Linked DNA regions of Homo sapiens: all the other regions are linked to region 1. Evidence: promoter capture Hi-C in 16 types of primary human blood cells and fetal thymus (Javierre and others, 2016). All regions are on one chromosome and are shown on one strand. The core of a region is centred on a gene start or on the middle of the fragment in contact, and the rest is flanking DNA. Distances in the headings are between cores, read along the strand shown.

Region 1 (3,394 bases), core at 611-3,110:
AGTCTGTCCTGTGTCTGCACTGCATGTCCTCTGCTTCCAAGTCCCATCTCTTTTTTTTTTTTTTTTTTTTTTTTTTAAGATGCAGTCTCGCTCTGTCGCCCAGGCTGGAGTGCAGTGGCATGGTCTTGGCTCACTGCAACATCCACCTCCTGGGTTCAAATGATTCTCCTGCCTCAGCCTCCCAAGTAACTGGGATTACAGGTGCCCGCCACCATGTCTGGCTAATTTTTGTAATTTTAGTAGAGATGGGGTTTTGCCATGTTGGCCAGGCTGGTCTCGAACTCCTGACCTCAGGTGATCTGCCCGCCTCGGCCTCCCAAAGTGCTGGGATTACAGGCATGGGATTACACGCCCGGCCTCCAAATCCCATCTCTTACGTATCACATTGCCATACTCTTTATGCCCCCACCTATGTCCCCATACCCAAGATTCACCCCAGTGTCCCTGTGTCCTGTGTCCTTGGGTCTGCCCCATCCATATCCCAATGTCCTTCACCCTCCATGACCCCTGTCTTGAGACTGCCTTTCGTGTTCGTCTATCCCCATCCTTCTCTGCCCCTCTTGTCCCAAGTCCCAGGCTCAGTGTCTTCCATCCCCAGGTCCCCATGTCCTGAGCCTGTCCCCACAACATGGCTCACATTGTCGTCGGTGGTGAGGTCCCCCTCACTAGCCTGGATGGCAAAGGCGATGAGGCAGATGGCGGCGGCAACCCACATGAGGCACTGCAGGCCCCCGGCCAGCTGCCTCGCGAACTTGACGTACTCTGGGGTGCCCCGTGGTGGCCGCAGTGCGTTGGGCCCATCCCGCAGCAGCAGCTCAGCAGCCAGGCTCGCAGAGAGGCCCTGGGACAGAGGGGCAGGGCGAGGCGGTCCTGGGGGCTTTCCTCCACATGCACACCCCGTGGAAAGCCCCCTGCTTCAGTTTCCCTTCTCCAGCTTGGTCTGTCCTGCTCCTTCTCATCTCTTTGTCTCTTGGTTCCTGCCCCCACCCCATCTCTCCCTCCCTCCTTCATCTCTCCCTTTGTCTCTCTCTCCTCGCTCCCCTTTCTATGTGTCTCTCTCCTGCTGCTCTCTCCTTATTTGTCTCTGCCTTCTCTGTCTTGCTGTCTCTTTTCAGCTACTCCTCTCTCCGTCTCTGTGTGTCACCCTTTCTCTCTAATGCTTTCTCCCTTCTCTCCCTCTCCCTCTCTCTCCCTCTCTCCATCTCCCTCCCTCTCTCCTCCCCTCCCTCCATCCTTTCCTCTCTCCCTCCCTCCCTCTTTCCTTTTCTGCCTCCCTCCCTCTCTCTATTTCTCCATATCTTCCTCTCTTCATCTCTCCCTCTCTCTCCCTCTCTCCATCTCCCTCCTTCCATCTCCCTCTCCCTCCCTCTCTCCTCCTCCCCTTTCTGTACGCTCCCAGTCTCCAGCTCACCTTGGTGGCACTGGTCTGGTATTTCTGTTCCAGCTCCGCCACTGACAGCTGGTGGTCGTTCTGTGTGGTGGGGTGGGGCAGGGTGCTTGCTCTGGGCTCTCCTGGCCCCCTCCCCGCCCACTGCCTGGTTCCCAGCCTACCCTCCAGCTCCCGCCCCTCCCCAGTCAGAGCTCACAATCTCCATCTCCTTCTTCATGTTCTCCAGCTTCTCCTTCCTCTTGCCACCCCCGCCACCCGCCTTCTTCTTCTTGCTCATCTTGGCAGCCATGTCCCCGCCAGGGCCAGGACCCAGCTCCACCGAGTAGAGCTCATAGTTCTCCTGGGAATGGACAGGATGGAGGGAGGGAGAACTCAGATTCCACTGCAACCCCTGTCCCCACTGCACCCCGGACCCCTGGGCCCCACTCACGGCCTTCCCCATGGTGCCCGGTGCCTGTGCTCCCACCCAACAGAGCCTGGGCCCGGACCAGTCCTGATATACCCAGGGAGGGCGGTGGGGTGGAGCAGAACCGCCCGACCACAGCTGATTACAGGCTCCTTGGGGTGACCTCTAGGCCTGGGCACCTCAGGCATTCCCTCCTGGGCTGGCCCCCCCCTCCCCTGCCCAGATCCCCCCATGTCAACCTGCCCTGAGATCAGGGAGCCCCTGGGAACCGCTGCAGCAACAAGAAGAGCAAACATAAGGTGCTCATTATGCGCTGGGCATTGTGCTGACGGCTTCCATGTGCTAACTTATTTAACCTTCCAATAACCCTTTGAGGGGACAAGACCCTTTACAGATGGGGAAACTGAGGCATGGAGGGGTTGAGTCATTCTCCTATGGCTCCATCACAGGCTAGGACATAATGGAGTGAGAACCAGATCAGCTGGCTGCAGAGTGTCCTCTTTCAGTCTAAATAGCACGTGCCTGATCAACTGGAAGAGGAGGGTGCTCCCACACTCTTTTTTTTTTTCTTTTTTTTTTTGAGATGGAGTGTCACTCTGACACCCAGGTTGGAGTGCAGTGGTGCAATCTCAGCTCGCTGCAACCTCCGCCTCCCGGGTTCAAGTGATTCTCCTGCCTCAGCCTCTTGAGTAGCTGGGACTACAGGCACATGCCACCACACCCAGCTAATTTTTGTACTTTTAGTAGAGACGGGGTTTCACCAGGTTGGCCAGGCTGGTCTCGAACTCCTGACCTCAGGTGATCCACCCGCCTTGGCCTCCCAAAGTGCTGGGATTACAGGCGTGAGCCACCATGCCCTGCCATGCTTACAACACTCTCTATGGTGGCTGAATGTTTACTGAACTCTGACTATTCACTATGGGCTGGGTGTGCTCTGTGTGTCACTCAAATGGTTTCCTTAGCATCTAACAGCAGCCCTGTAAAGCAATATTCTCTTCTTAGCCCCCATCAGGGACTTTGCAGAAGATTTCAACGTCTAAGAATTAGGGACAGGGTTCCAGCCCGGGCTTGACCCCAGGGCTTGACCCCAGAGCCTAGCTCTTCTATGGCACCACCAATGGAAAAACCCAAACTTCACTGCAGCAGCACCACACACATGCCAGGCTCTGCACGTGTGACCTCACGGGTCTTTGCAAAAAACCCTGTGCAGGCAGAACTATCATTCCTGTTGTGCAGAGGGGGAAACTGAGGCTCACAGGGACTCACATATCCAGCTACAGACTTTACAGCTCTCAACCATTCCCCGTCCCTACCCTAGATGGGGAAACCAAGGTGCAACATGGGGAAAGGATGTGTCCAAGGGTCTTGGCTTGATCTTGGTGTTGGGTGACAGATGCCAGGAGGCCTGGGGACTCCCTCCTCATCCCTCAGGTAGGGACCTCCATGGGCAGCAGCAGCGAGGGGCTGGGCCAGTGGAATGGTGGGGACCTTGGTATGTTATGGGGTGAGCGTGTCTCCAGGAGCAGGTGAGCGTGCGCCTGATAAGATAACTGCCCTGGCAATGTCCTTCTCTACTGGGGCAGGTCACCTGGGAAACT
Region 2 (3,394 bases), core at 545-3,044, 240 kb after region 1:
GGAGGAGGCCAGTGTGGCTGTAGTGGAGTGAGGGAGAGGAAGAGAGGGAGGGAAAGTTAGGGAAGTGACAGGGAGCATGTGGGGCTTAGAGGCCACTGTAAGGATTTCTTTTTGTTTTGTTTTGTTTGTTTGTTTGTTTGTTTGTTTGTTTTGAGACAGATTCTCGCTCTGCTGCCCAGGCTGAAGTGCAGTGGTGCAGTCATGGCTCACTGCAGCCTTGAACTCCTGGCCTCAAGTGATCCTCCCACCTCAGCCTCCTAAGTGGCTGGAACCACAGGCATGTGCTACCACACCTGACTATTTTTAAAATTTTTTAGAGATGGGGTCTCCCTGTGTTGCCCAGGCTGGTCTCCAACTCCTGCTCTCAAGTGAATCTCTAGCCTCAGCCTCCCAAAGCACTGGGATTACAGGTATGAGCCACTGCACCCAACCACTAGGTGTTATTATTTCCTGCAGAGGCCAGCTGGCCCGGGCCTACCTCTGACTGGTGGCCTCATAGTCAGGCTGAGTGGGGTCTTCCATCCCATGGAGCTGGGCCACCGCTCTCTCCTTGTCCAGATATGCACCTCGTACCAGCTTCACTCCGAAGGCCAGGCCGGCCCTGTGCGCAGCCTCTGCATCCCTCCCCAGCCGCTCGAATGTGTCCTATAGGGCACGCAGGCAGGTTCTGGTAGGTCAGGGTGTGGGGACCCCAGCCTGTACCTCCTGGAACACACTGCACACCTTTAGACAGGCCTGGTAGGTGTTCCACACCCAGGGCCCGCCTTCACCCGGGCTGTTCCAGCGCACAGCCAGGGCAGCCACCAGCAGCGAGAGCGCAGGGTTCAGTGAGGTGTACTCCGCATCCACCAGGAGCCGCACGTGCTGGGCCCGGGCATACTGATGGCGACAGAGACGACGGTCAGGGCCCCGGGTGTCCAGCAGGGGCAGTGGAGCCAGATCCCAGCAGGAGGGGTTACCTGTGCCACCCGATGCAGGCGGCTGAGGGAGGCCCGGAGGTGCTGGTTCCAGCAGGAGGGGTTACCTGTGCCACCCAATGCAGGCGGCAGAGGGAGGCCCGGAGGTGCTGGTTCCAGCAGGAGGGGTTACCTGTGCCACCCGATGCAGGCGGCTGAGGGAGGCCCGGAGGTGCTGGTTCTGCTCAGCATTGAGGCAGGAGACCTGGAGGTTCTAGGGGGCAGCAGGGGAAGTGGGGAAAAGCTTATAAGTTGCTAGAAATCTAAAAATGAGCAATATCAGTTAGGTACTATTTATTGAGGGGGTTATGAGCCTAGAATCAGGGCTCGAATCCAGGCTTCACCACCTACTGTGTGACCTTGGGCAAGTTATGTAACCTTTCTGGGCCTCAGTTTTTGTTTGTTTGTTTTTTGAAACAGAGTCTTGCTCTGTTGCCCAGGCTGGAGTGCAGTGGCATGATCTCAGCTCACTGCAACCTCTGCCTCCTGGGTTCAAGTGATTCTCCTGCTTCAGCCTCCCGAGTAGCTGGGATTACAGGCGCCCGCCACCATGCCCGGCTAATATTTGTACTTTTAGTAGAGACAGGGTTTAACCATGTTGGCCAGGCTGGTCTCGAACTCCTGACCTCAAGTGATCTGCCCACATCGGCCTCCCAAAGTGCTGGGATTACAGGTGTGAGCCACCGTGCTCAGCCCTCCCTGCTACTCTTTGAACACGAGGGCACCTTCCCACCTCCAGCCCTTTACCTGCTCCCATGTTTCCTTCAAGTATTTGCTCTAATGTCACTTTCTCAACATGGTTTTCCCACCTATACATTGGCAACTTCTTTTCCTCTTCCTCAGCCTTATTTTCCCTTACTTGTTACGTACTGACTTTTGTTTTGCTGAGACGGGGTCTTGCTGTGTTGCCCAGGCTGGAATGCAGTGGCACGATCATGGCTCACTGCAGCCTCCACCTCCCCAGCTCAAGCAATCCTCCTGCTTCAGCCTTCCAAGTACCTAGTACCACAGGCACCCACCACCATGCCGGGCTAATTCTTTACTATTTGTAGAGTCAAGGTCTTCCTATGTTGCCCAGGCTGGTCTCAGTCTCCTGGACTCAAGCGATCCTCCCACCTCAGCCTTCCAAAGTGCTGGGATTCTGACTTTGGTTTTAATTATTGTCTCTTGCCCCTGACTTGCAAGTAAGTGCCTCGAGGTCAGGGATTTTGCCTTCATGCTTCCTCGGCCCCTAGCACCGTGTCTGGAACAAGATAGATGTTCAGCAAACACTTCGGGAGTGGATATGCTTGTAACATGGAAATAAGAACCGTTTCTAACTCACAGTCTTATGCAGATTCATCTGGCTGAATGTGAGCTGCTGGTGACTCCAGGGAGTCTGGCTGGGTTCAAAGAAGTTGGGAAATGGAAGAAAGAGGAACAGGTGGGGCTGAAAGCTTTATTATATCCAACAGGGTCGATACAGATGACATAGGCCTGGGCTTGCTCATGGAATCCCACCTGGAGGCAGGTTGGGCTGGAAGCTGCAACCTTCCGCATGGTGGGGAGAATGCTGCCTCCTGGAGAAGGGAAGACCTGGAGGCAGCAGCCTGGTTTCCTCCTCCCCTGTCAGAGGATTGTCTCCTGCTTGACTTGGGGCGTAGTCTTAGGCCCTCAGGGAGCTATTTCAGACACCCACCAAATATTTAACTCATTTAATATTTACCACTCTCTAATGTACCAACTGTTATTATCCCCCCATTTTCTAGATGGGGAAACTGAGGCACAGAGCAGGGAAGTCACTTGTCAAAAGTCACACAGCTAACTCAGGGCAGACCTGAGGTTTAAACCTCAGCCTTTCCAGAGCCTGGGTCTTTCTCTCTTTTCTCCCTCCCTCCCTCCTTCCCTCCCTTCCTTCCTTCCTTCTTTTTTTTTTTTTTTTGAGATAGATCTCACTCTGTCTCCCAGGCAAGAGTGCAGTGGTGCAAGTTCAAGTGATTCCCCTGCCTCAGCCTCCTGATTAACTGGGGCTACAGGCACGTGCCACCACTTCTGGATAAGTTTTATATTTTTAGTAGAGATGGGGTTTCACCATGTTGCCCAGGCTGGTCTCAAACTCCTGACCTCAAGTGATCCAGCCCCACTTAGCCTCCCAAAGTGCTGGGATTACAGGTGTGAGCTACAGCACCTGGCCCTTTTTTCTTTCTTTCTTTATTTCTTTCTTCCTTCCTTCCTTCCTTCCTTTCCTTCCTTCCTTCCTTCCTCCCTCCCTCTCTTTCTTTCTTCGCTCTCAAACTTGCCAGCTCAAGCAATCCTCCCACCTTAGCCTCCCAAGTAGCCAGGATTACAGGTGCCTGCCACCACACCCAGCTAATTTAAAGGAATTTTTTGTAGAGATGAGGGTTTACTATATTACTCAGGTTGGTATTGACCTCCTGGGCTCAAGCGACCCTCCTGCC
Region 3 (3,394 bases), core at 309-2,808, 160 kb before region 1:
CCGAGATCGCCTCTGCACTCCAGCCTGGGCAACAGAGTGAGACTCTGTCTCAAAAAAAAAAAAAAAAGGAGAATTCAGACTAAGCTGTTTTGCAGCATCCCAAGGCTGTGTTGACCTCACGTACAGCTGCATCATGGGAGTGGGCGGTGCGACATCTCAAGTCCAACTCAACCGAGCCATGGTTCAGGCTAAGTTCCCGCTGGTGCCCCTACCTGGAACGCTCTTCAGATAGTGGCTCCTTCTCACCCATTCAAATGTCCCAGGCCTTTCCTGACAGGCCCTGCCCATCTCTCTCTCTCTCTCTCTCAATTTCCCTGCTTGCTTTTTGTTGTTGTTGTTGTTGTTGTTTGATTTTTGGTCCTTTTTTTTTTTTTTTTTTGAGGCAGAGTCTTCCTCTGTCGCCCAGGCTGGAGTGCAGTGGCATGATCTCGGCTGACTGCAATCTCTGCCTCCCAGGTTAAGGTGATTCTCCTGCCCCAGTCTCCTGAGTAGCTGGGATTACCAGTGCCCGCCACCATACCTGGCTAATTTTTGTATTTTTAGTAGAGACAGAGTTTCACCATGTTGGCCAGGCTGGTCTCAAACTCCTGACCTCAAGTGATGTGCCCGCCTCAGCTTCCCAAAGTGCTGGGGTTACAGGCATGAACCCCACCACGCCTAGCCGATTTATTTTCTTTCCCTTTTTTTTCCCCCAGACAGGACCACTGGATTGGAGTGGTGCCATCATAGTTCATTTTAATTTCCAACTCCTAGGCTCAAGTGATCCTCCCGCCTCAGCCTCCTGAGTATCTAGGACTACAGGTGTGCACCACCATGCCTGGCTAATTTTTTATTTTTATCCTTTTTTGTAGAGACAGGGGATCTCACTATGTTGCCCAGGCTGGTCTCAAACACCCAGCCTTAAGCAATCCTCCTCCTGCCTCAGCCTCCTAAGTAGCTGGGATTATAGGTGTGAGCCACCATGCCTGACTTTTTATCTCACTTTTTGTAGAGACGGGGTATCGCTATGTTGACCAGGCTGGTTTTGAACTCCTGGCCTCAAGCAGTCCTCCTGCCTGGGCCTCCCAAAGCGTTGAGATCACAGACGTGAGCCACCTTGCCTGGCCTACTTCCTTTCTTCCTGTAAAATTGCCTTGTTGGTTTGTCTACTTGTTTTCTGTTCATCCTGTTCACTCTTGTCTCCAGCTCCTAGAACAGTACCTCACACAGAGTAACGGCTCCATGTGTTTTGTGACAGGGAAGCAGACAGTGTGGCTTGTTGGAGAGGAGCCACATACCCCCGCCCCCCGATTCATACATGGTGTGACTCAGCCCGAACCATTGCTCAGTTGAGTTGGATTTGAGATGATGCACTGCCCACTCCCGTGATACAGCTGTGTGTGAGGTCAGCACAGTCTTGGGGTGCTGCCAGACAACTTAGTTTGAATTCTCCCTTTGACTCATTGGAACCTAGACCTCAGCACCAAAGATGTCCCCATACCAGTAACCCGGGCAACAGAATGCAGATAAAGGACAGGAGACAAAAGGCGCAGGTTCTGACACATTCTTTGCTTGTGTCATCAGCTAGCAAGTATTCACAGGCACATCCAACCTCCATCCTTACATTCCACAAGGATTTGAGTGTCTGTTATAGGCAAGGGACAATGCTAGGTTTTTTTTTCTAAAAACAAACTTGGGGCTGGGCATGGTGGCTCACACTTGTAATCCTAGCACTTTGGGAGGCCAAAGCGGGTGGACTGCCTGAGCTCAAGAGTTCGACAACTCTTGGTAACATGGTGAAACCCCGTCTCTGCCAAAAATACAAAAAATTAGCCAGATGCAGTGGCGTGCACCTGTGGCCCAGCTTCTCGGGAGGCTGAGGTGTGAGGATCACTTGAGCCCGAAAGGTGAAGGCTGCAGTGGGCCGCGATTGCACCACTGAACTCTAGCCTGGGCAACAGAGTGGGACCCTGTCTCAAAACAACAACAACAAAATAAGAAAGAAAGAAAGAAAAAGCGGAAGTGAGAGATGGATGTGCGTGTAGTCGTGTGGGATAATTGCCCATGGGAAGGAAACAGAATTCAACCTCTTGGAATGTAGGGGGAGGAGGAAGCCTGAAAAAACTGTTCAAATTTGGATTCTGGGCTGAGCACAGTGGCTCACGCCTGTAATCCCAGCACTTTGGGAGGCAAGGCAGGCGGATCACTTGAGGTTCGGAGTTCGAGACTAGCCTGGCCAACATGGTGAAACCCTGTCTACAAAAAATACAAAAATTAGTCGGGCGTGGTGTTGCACACCTGTAATCCCACTACTTGGAAGGCTGGGGTAGGAGAATCACTTGAACTAGGGAGGCAGAGGTTGCAGTGAGCTGAGATCGCACCACTAAACTCCAGCCTGGGTGATAGAGCAAGACTCTGCCTCAAAAAAAAAAAAATTGGACTCTGGGTGAAATAAGTCTGTTGGGGACAAAATCTGGTGGGAGACCCAGAAGGTCAAGCTGCTTTAGAAAGAGCTCAACCACTGACTTTCCTCTTTTTGACCACATGACTCTTCCAGGTATAAAAGCCTGCCGTTGGTGGAAAAGGAAAAGGTGGTCCAGTTAGACAAGATGCCACCGGCTTCTGAAACCAGACATCTTTGAAAACCCACCCATCTACCTGCAGGAAAAGGCAAGGGACCTGACCTCGCCTGGGCTCAGGGAAGAGGTTGCTGGGATCATAACCCCAGGAAGAGACGGGATGGAAGGAGAGCATGCAGGGAGCAGAGGACAGGCTACTCTCCAAGGAGGAGAGGGAAGAGGCCACAGAAATGGAAAAGGGGCCAGGACAAGTCAGTGGAGAGATGGTCAGGGCCTGGCGAGGAGGAGCAGGACAAAAGCGGTGGAGCTCAGCCCCGTGGCGGCAGGGCCACTCCCATTCATCTGGTCCTCTACTTCTGAAGTTCTCGAATGCAGAATGAGATGTACAGATGGGCCAGCAGGTGATATGCTATCTGTCATAGGTTAAGGCCTCATTATTTTATTCATTTTTAAACTTTTTTTTTTTTGAGACAGGGTCTTGTTCTGTCGCCCAGGCTGGTTTGCAGTGGTGCCACCATGGTTCACTGTAACCTTGAAGCCCCTGGGCTCAAGTGATCCTCCTGCCTCAGCCTCCAGAGTAACGAGGACTACAGGTGCACACCGCCATGCCCAGCTAATTTCTTAACGTTTTGTAGAGAAAGGCTCTCACTGTGTTGCCCAGGCTGGTCTTGAACTCCTTGACTCAAGCAATCCTCCTGTCTTGGCTTCCCAAAGTGTTGGGATTACAGGTGTGAGCCACTGCTCCCAGCCACAAGTTTTATTTTAAATGTTTACCTTTCAATGATCACTTCGAGGAGATTTAAGCTTACTCTTTCTTTTTTTTTTTTCTTGAGATG

Evidence for each region. The method cuts DNA at HindIII sites, captures the fragments that hold promoters and counts their contacts. A CHiCAGO score of 5 or more calls a contact.
Region 2: a contact is called between a fragment that was not itself captured here and the fragment with the promoter of ATP4A in region 1, in 3 of 17 cell types (M2 macrophages, megakaryocytes and M0 macrophages). The highest score is 7.3, in M2 macrophages.
Region 3: the fragment with the promoter of LINC01531 here is called in contact with the fragment with the promoter of ATP4A in region 1 in 17 of 17 cell types (neutrophils, M1 macrophages, M0 macrophages and 14 more); the score reaches 15.5 in neutrophils.

Annotation. Positions count from the first base shown.
Region 1 is chr19:35,561,798-35,565,191 of GRCh38, forward strand. It overlaps ATP4A (ATPase H+/K+ transporting subunit alpha), which reads right to left and starts at 1,861. Exons shown (of 22, transcript NM_000704.3): 1 at 1,821-1,861; 2 at 1,587-1,730; 3 at 1,412-1,471; 4 at 638-841. The coding sequence starts at 1,832. RefSeq lists an enhancer at 3,016-3,394. The HindIII fragment of the contact is 9,853 bases long and covers 1-3,394 here.
Region 2 is chr19:35,805,952-35,809,345 of GRCh38, forward strand. It overlaps PRODH2 (proline dehydrogenase 2), which reads right to left. Exons shown (of 10, transcript NM_021232.2): 5 at 1,090-1,170; 6 at 724-879; 7 at 479-645. Among named protein-coding and RNA genes, the nearest start is that of PRODH2, 5.2 kb to the right of the region's middle. RefSeq lists an enhancer at 982-1,482. The HindIII fragment of the contact is 1,192 bases long and covers 1,199-2,390 here.
Region 3 is chr19:35,404,049-35,407,442 of GRCh38, forward strand. It overlaps LINC01531 (long intergenic non-protein coding RNA 1531), which reads left to right and starts at 1,559. Exons shown (of 5, transcript NR_040046.1): 1 at 1,559-1,633; 2 at 2,537-3,394. The HindIII fragment of the contact is 14,783 bases long and covers 1-3,360 here.